2 separate regions of the Homo sapiens genome follow, and region 1 is linked to region 2. Evidence: promoter capture Hi-C in 16 types of primary human blood cells and fetal thymus (Javierre and others, 2016). All regions are on one chromosome and are shown on one strand. Each heading gives the region's core, a stretch centred on a gene start or on the middle of the fragment in contact. The rest is flanking DNA. Distances are from core to core; before and after follow the strand shown.

Region 1 (2,986 bases), core at 388-2,887, 5.5 Mb after region 2:
GAGCATACTTCTCAGATGTAATGGTTTCACCAGGATTCAGAAAACTGTAGTGGATCAGATGGGCAGCAGACCACCGAACAGTGACCATGACCTTTTTTTTGGTGCAAGTTTGGCTTTGGGAACTGCTTTGGAGCTGCCTCTTGGTCCAACCACTGAGCTGGTTGTTGTATAAAATTCACTTTTCATTACATGTCACAATCCGATTGAGAAATGGTTTGTTGTTGCGTAGCATAAAAGAAGACTACACTTCAAAACGATAGTTTTGATTTCCGCTCAGCTCATGAGGCACCCACTTATCAAGCTTTTTCACCTTTCCAATTTGCTTCGAATGCTGAACGACCCTAATGACCGTAGAATAGTCAACGCTGAGTTCTTCTGTAATTTTTCATGTAGTTCAATGATTGCTCTCAATTGGTCGTTGTCAACTTCCCATGGCCCATATCACGTTCCTCATCTTCAAGGCTCTCTTCCTTGCAAAACTTCTTAAGCCACCACTGCACTGTATGTTTGTTAGCAGTTCCTGGGCCAAATGTGTTACTGATGTTTTGAGTTGTCTTCGCTGCTTTATGAACCATTTTGAACTCGAATAAGAAAACTGCTCCAAATTTGCTTTTTATCTAACATCATTAGACAAAAAGCATATTCTAAAATAAACAGCAATAAGTCATTAGCAAAAAAATAAAGTGAGAAATGTGCATTAAAATGATCCACATTTATTTAAGAATGTATTCCAATATCAAACAGCAAATTTCAAAAATGCAAAAACGCAATTGCTTTTGCCTCTCAGGTACATCACTTGACCTTTCTAGTTCTCACCCACTTCACCCCTAAAATCGGAAAATCTTTCTGCAAGAAAAAAATTTGACCACATTCCCTTAAGGCCTCTTCCAATTTCAAGAGCTGTGCTTTACCATGACAAAACGAACCTAGCTCTTTTCCCAATTTTGCAACGTCAGAAAAAGGAGGAAGGGGAAATAGCTGTGTTTAAAACATTTTTTACCAAATAGAAATATTATAAGATTATGGAAAAAAAAATACTAAATGTTGGAGTCATCCTGATAAAAACCCAAATGGATACTGTGTGGGAAAAAAAGTTAACCCATCCATTCTGGAGTCAATATTTATTCTTAATAAGCAAGAAAACTGAAGAAAAAAAATCAGTATAAGATCTACAGCCTGTAGCCTAAACACTTCAGGGCATTTAGGATAAATAAGCGCCTGCACCTTCCCAGGCAAGTCAAAACCACGACATAAAACAGAGAAATATGTAAGGAAAACCTACAGCCCAAGAGTTTAAGAGCAAGACAGGCCAATTTCTTCAAATAAATTTAAGCAATGCTGCTAAAAGCTGCTTTACACATCCCTATTACCATGTACTACTTCCAAATTTCGAGGAGGAGGGGCATGGAATTACACAAGATCTGGATCGTATGTTTACTAAGAAACCAAAAATTATAGGTTCTGGGGCGTTTCAACATTTCACCTGAGATGGCCAGAACGGGCGCATCTTTAGACCTTTAAAACCTAAATTAAAAACTATCAGTACCGAGGAAGGGCCGAAGAGCTCAATACCCACCCAATACAACCCCCACTTCCGACCTACAGACGCTCTGCTGAGCGGCTGGGAGAATCCGTCGCGCCAGTCAGGGCCCGGCTTCTTCCAACAACAGACACTTTGCGAGCCTTCCAGAAGCCTTGGCTAAGCGAGAAGGCAGGGTGGAGGCCGCCACTGCGAGGACGGTCCCCACCCAGCTGCGAGGAGCTCGCGGTTCCCCAGAGGGGCGGGCCTGCGTCCGGGTAACCGTGCGCGACGTCCACGAGTTTTTAGGACGACCAGCCCTTCAGCCTCTAGGCCCCGACGCCTGCGCCATTTAAGCCACATATCCGCCCGCCCGGCCGCGGCCAAGGCCGGCGGCAGCTACGTAGCCGCCGCCGCCCGGGGCCCCACAGCCCACGGGCCGGATGGACCGAGCGCCGGCTGCGGCGTTCCGGTGCGCGCGCGCGCCTCAGCCAATCGCGTTCTCGCCCGCCCCCCGCCGCGGCGGCGAGGCTGGCGCTGGGAAGAGGAAGAAGAACATTCGCCCTCCTCCTACCAGCGCGCGGGCGGCGGCGGCGGCGGCACCGGGGTCACGAACTCTGACCTTTCACTGACAAAAACAATAACAAACCCCCCCTTCTCCGCGACCCCGGCGGCGCCCCCGGGCCCGTCCCCGCCACCCCGCTCCCACCTCGGCGTCTCGTCTCTCGCCCGCTGCCCCGCGAGCCCGCGGCCCCCGGGCTCCCGCCATCCGCCGACACCGGGAGCCCGGGCTCCCCGCGCCCTGCCCTCCGCGCCGGGGGCCGCCCGCCGCAGACACGGGACCCGCTTCGAGGCCGCTTTGGCGCCAAATCCTGAGGTAAAATTGAAAGAGGGTCGGGCGGGCTCGGGCCGGCGGCGGAGGGGGCGGGCCTGGCGCGCGGACATGGAGGCGCCGCGGCGGCGGCTGAACCCGACCCTTTTACCTTTGCCACGGGGTGGCGGCGGCGGCGCCCGGCGCTTTGCATAGTGGGCCGGGCCGCTCCCCTCCCCTCCCCGCCCGCGGCCGGGCGAAGCGAGCGGGTTCCCCCTGACCGGCCCGGCCGGCGCAAGGGTGGGGGTGGAGGGGGAATGGCCGCGGCCCCGCCTTATAGTTGGCCCTCCGCCAGCGCCGCCATTTTGTTCTCGACGGAGATGGCTCCGGCTGGGCGGGCTCCCTTCCTCCTTATCCTCCTCCTCCTCCCGCCTGCAGTCCCTTCTTCCTTCTCTGCCGGGATTTTCACCCCTCCGCTTCTAGTCCGCCTTTGGCGGCCGTCGCAGCCCAACCGCCGTTTTTTCTGAAGGGGAGGGTAAAAGAAAAGGAGGAAGGCGGGTGCGAGGCGCGACCTCGTGAGCGACGGATGGGCTGGCTAATTGGCGCCCAGATAGGAGGGCCGGGGCCTGTGGCACCGCCCCCCTAAGCTTTGCTGA
Region 2 (2,909 bases), core at 274-2,773:
CTAAGCTCCATTTCCCTACCCCACCCTTATTACAATAACCTCGACACCAACTCTAGTCCGTGGGAAGATAAACTAATCGGAGTCGCCCCTCAAATCTTACAGCTGCTCACTCCCCTGCAGGGCAACGCCCAGGGACCAAGTTAGCCCCTTAAGCCTAGGCAAAAGAATCCCGCCCATAATCGAGAAGCGACTCGACATGGAGGCGATGACGAGATCACGCGAGGAGGAAAGGAGGGAGGGCTTCTTCCAGGCCCAGGGCGGTCCTTACAAGACGGGAGGCAGCAGAGAACTCCCATAAAGGTATTGCGGCACTCCCCTCCCCCTGCCCAGAAGGGTGCGGCCTTCTCTCCACCTCCTCCACCGCAGCTCCCTCAGGATTGCAGCTCGCGCCGGTTTTTGGAGAACAAGCGCCTCCCACCCACAAACCAGCCGGACCGACCCCCGCTCCTCCCCCACCCCCACGAGTGCCTGTAGCAGGTCGGGCTTGTCTCGCCCTTCAGGCGGTGGGAACCCGGGGCGGAGCCGCGGCCGCCGCCATCCAGAAGTCTCGGCCGGCAGCCCGCCCCCGCCTCCAGCGCGCGCTTCCTGCCACGTTGCGCAGGGGCGCGGGGCCAGACACTGCGGCGCTCGGCCTCGGGGAGGACCGTACCAACGCCCGCCTCCCCGCCACCCCCGCGCCCCGCGCAGTGGTTTCGCTCATGTGAGACTCGAGCCAGTAGCAAGGGCCCGGTCCCACAGCTTCGACAGCCAATCAGGTGTCGAAGACAAGCAGGCGGCGGGTAAACCGACTCCCCCGAAGGAAGGGGAGGGTGGGAGGACGCCCGCGCCAGAGCCGATTTCACTGACCCTCCCCTCCCGCCGCAGGAGGCCGGCCGCGCCCGCACACCCAGCATCTCTACACCCCACCTACCTACCCGCCCCACCCAGGGGGCAACGCGAGAGTCGCTAAGCGGCTGCGTACTCCCGACGGCGTAACTGACAGGAGCTTTACTCCAACCAGAATACGCCATTTGTGTTTTCACACACGGCGGGAGGAGAAACGGCCAATCGGCGACAAGAGGCTAGCCGGAAGCGCTCCTCCCTCTGCGAGAGCAATGGCTCCGTCCGGTTTCGAGCATTTTCCGCTCCCTTCTCCCTCCCCCTCCGGTTGCCGCAGGGCGGGCCTCCCTCCCGCCTGCATCCAGCCACCCCTTTCCCTCCCAACGTAACAAACATTATGTTCCCGACTTCCCACGGGAAAGGCAACCCCCGCAAGCCACCAGACGGCCCCCCTAGCCACCCATCCCCCCAGTGTACCGCACCTCCCCTCCCACCAGAGTTCCGCTCCCCTACCTAGCCGAGGCTCTCTGAGGAGCCGGAGCGCCGAAGCACAGCCTCTTCTCTAGGCGGCCCCGGCGGCTTCCGCTGATTGGCGGCGAGTGGGCCAATGGGTGCGGGGCGGTGGGCGGAGAGGCCAATGGCGCGGCGGGAGGGGGCGTGTCCCGGGTGCCCCTGGCGCCGGCGCTGGGAATCCCCGTGCGGTCAGTGGCGTTTCCGCTCGGGCAGCGGGCTGAGTGAGCTGCCGCCGCCGCCGCCGCCGCCGCCGCCGCCGCCGCTGCCGGGGGAGGGGCGGCCGCCGCCCGCCTGCGCTCAGAGACTCACGCAGCCCCAGTCCCGCCAGTCCGCCAACACAGTAGTGCCGGCCCCCCTCTTTCCCTGGCCCTGCCCCCCCTCCCCGCCTTTGGCTCGCTCCGCCTTTCTGCCCCCCACCCCCACCTCACGGGTACGGGCCATTCCCGGCCAGGAAACGCCGTGGCGCCGCGTTGGGCCTAACTCGAGTCCTGCCGCCTCCCGGGAGTGCCGTGCGCCGCAGCCCGGGCCCAGGCCCCGGCAGCGCCTGGGACAAGGTAAGGGTCCGACAGAAAAGAGACCGAACCTCACGATCGGGCCCCAGGGGAGGGAAGGGTCACCTCCTCCGTCTCCCCGCGCTCGCTCTCCTTGGGTCGTGGGCCTGGCCCTCCCCAAGCTCTTAGGAGGATGCTGCCACTTCTCACCCCCCTCGCCGCCTTGCACACACCGTTGCAACACCCCATTTTCCCAGGGAGAGAGATCCCCCTCTAATCTAGGCGACCCAACTCCCCCTTTCATGTTTTTCCTGGGTCAGGACGCTTCCCCTCCCCCAACGCCTCTTCACCCCCTTTCCTGGGAACTGCCTACTCCACGTTTACCTTTCCCTTGAGGAGAGGCCTCTTGCTGCCCTCCGCTCGAAATACACAGGCATACTTTTTTTCTCTCCCCGATCCCCCACTCCCTACCCCCGTTCTCGCGGCCTTGTGACAGACAACTCTGATCGCTCTGGGGGCCGCGATCTCCCCTCCGTAATCTTCCTGGACGCCTTCCCTCTCGTTTTCTGGCTTCCCACCTCAGATGGCTGCTTCCCAAAGGCATTACCTTCGCCACCCCCACCACACGTTCTCTGGCTCCCCGTGGCGTGTGCCACAGCGTGTCTGAGATAGCCTCGTTGAATGTGTAGGGTTCGAGCCTGGAGTTGAGCCAGATTGTGTCGTTTTACTTGCCTTGGGCGTGGAGAACGATCTTGTGAGAATATCTTCAAAGGCAGAAAAATATTCCCTTTATGAATTCTCTTTCCCTCTGCGTGTAAGTCGGGAATGTGAAGAGGAGTGTAGGAAAGAGCCCTGGTTCAAGTAGGTAAATCGCATGAGAGGGAAAGTTAAACTGTTGGGAAAGCCCCTTCTATGCTAATTGATTCTATAGAGTCCTTGCTTGTCTCACTTCTTGGGCGTCAGTGGTCTTTCTCTTGGATATGGATGCTGCAGTCAGCTCTGCTGGTCTGGGTCAGGGGTGCGTGTATGACCTGCATTTTCTGCTTTCTCATGTTACTTGTGCAATGTATTCACCGGTAACTCATT

The links. Contacts are between HindIII fragments. The CHiCAGO score rates a contact against its expected background, and 5 or more counts as called.
Region 1: a contact is called between a fragment that was not itself captured here and the fragment with the promoter of SETD5 in region 2, in 2 of 17 cell types (total B cells and fetal thymus). The highest score is 7.3, in total B cells.

Annotation. Positions count from the first base shown.
Region 1 is chr3:14,945,511-14,948,496 of GRCh38, forward strand. NR2C2 (nuclear receptor subfamily 2 group C member 2) reads left to right here and starts at 2,073. Exons shown (of 14, transcript NM_001291694.2): 1 at 2,073-2,396. It overlaps FGD5-AS1 (FGD5 antisense RNA 1), which reads right to left and starts at 2,931. Exons shown (of 2, transcript NR_046251.1): 1 at 2,503-2,931; 2 at 1-644. RefSeq lists enhancers at 1,224-1,913, 2,602-2,986, 2,736-2,935 and silencers at 1,696-2,125, 2,176-2,245, 2,266-2,685. The HindIII fragment of the contact is 2,676 bases long and covers 300-2,975 here.
Region 2 is chr3:9,396,092-9,399,000 of GRCh38, forward strand. SETD5 (SET domain containing 5) reads left to right here and starts at 1,524. Exons shown (of 23, transcript NM_001080517.3): 1 at 1,524-1,886. THUMPD3-AS1 (THUMPD3 antisense RNA 1) reads right to left here and starts at 532. Exons shown (of 4, transcript NR_132781.1): 1 at 469-532. RefSeq lists a silencer at 422-1,731 and an enhancer at 2,342-2,391. The HindIII fragment of the contact is 6,018 bases long and covers 1-2,909 here.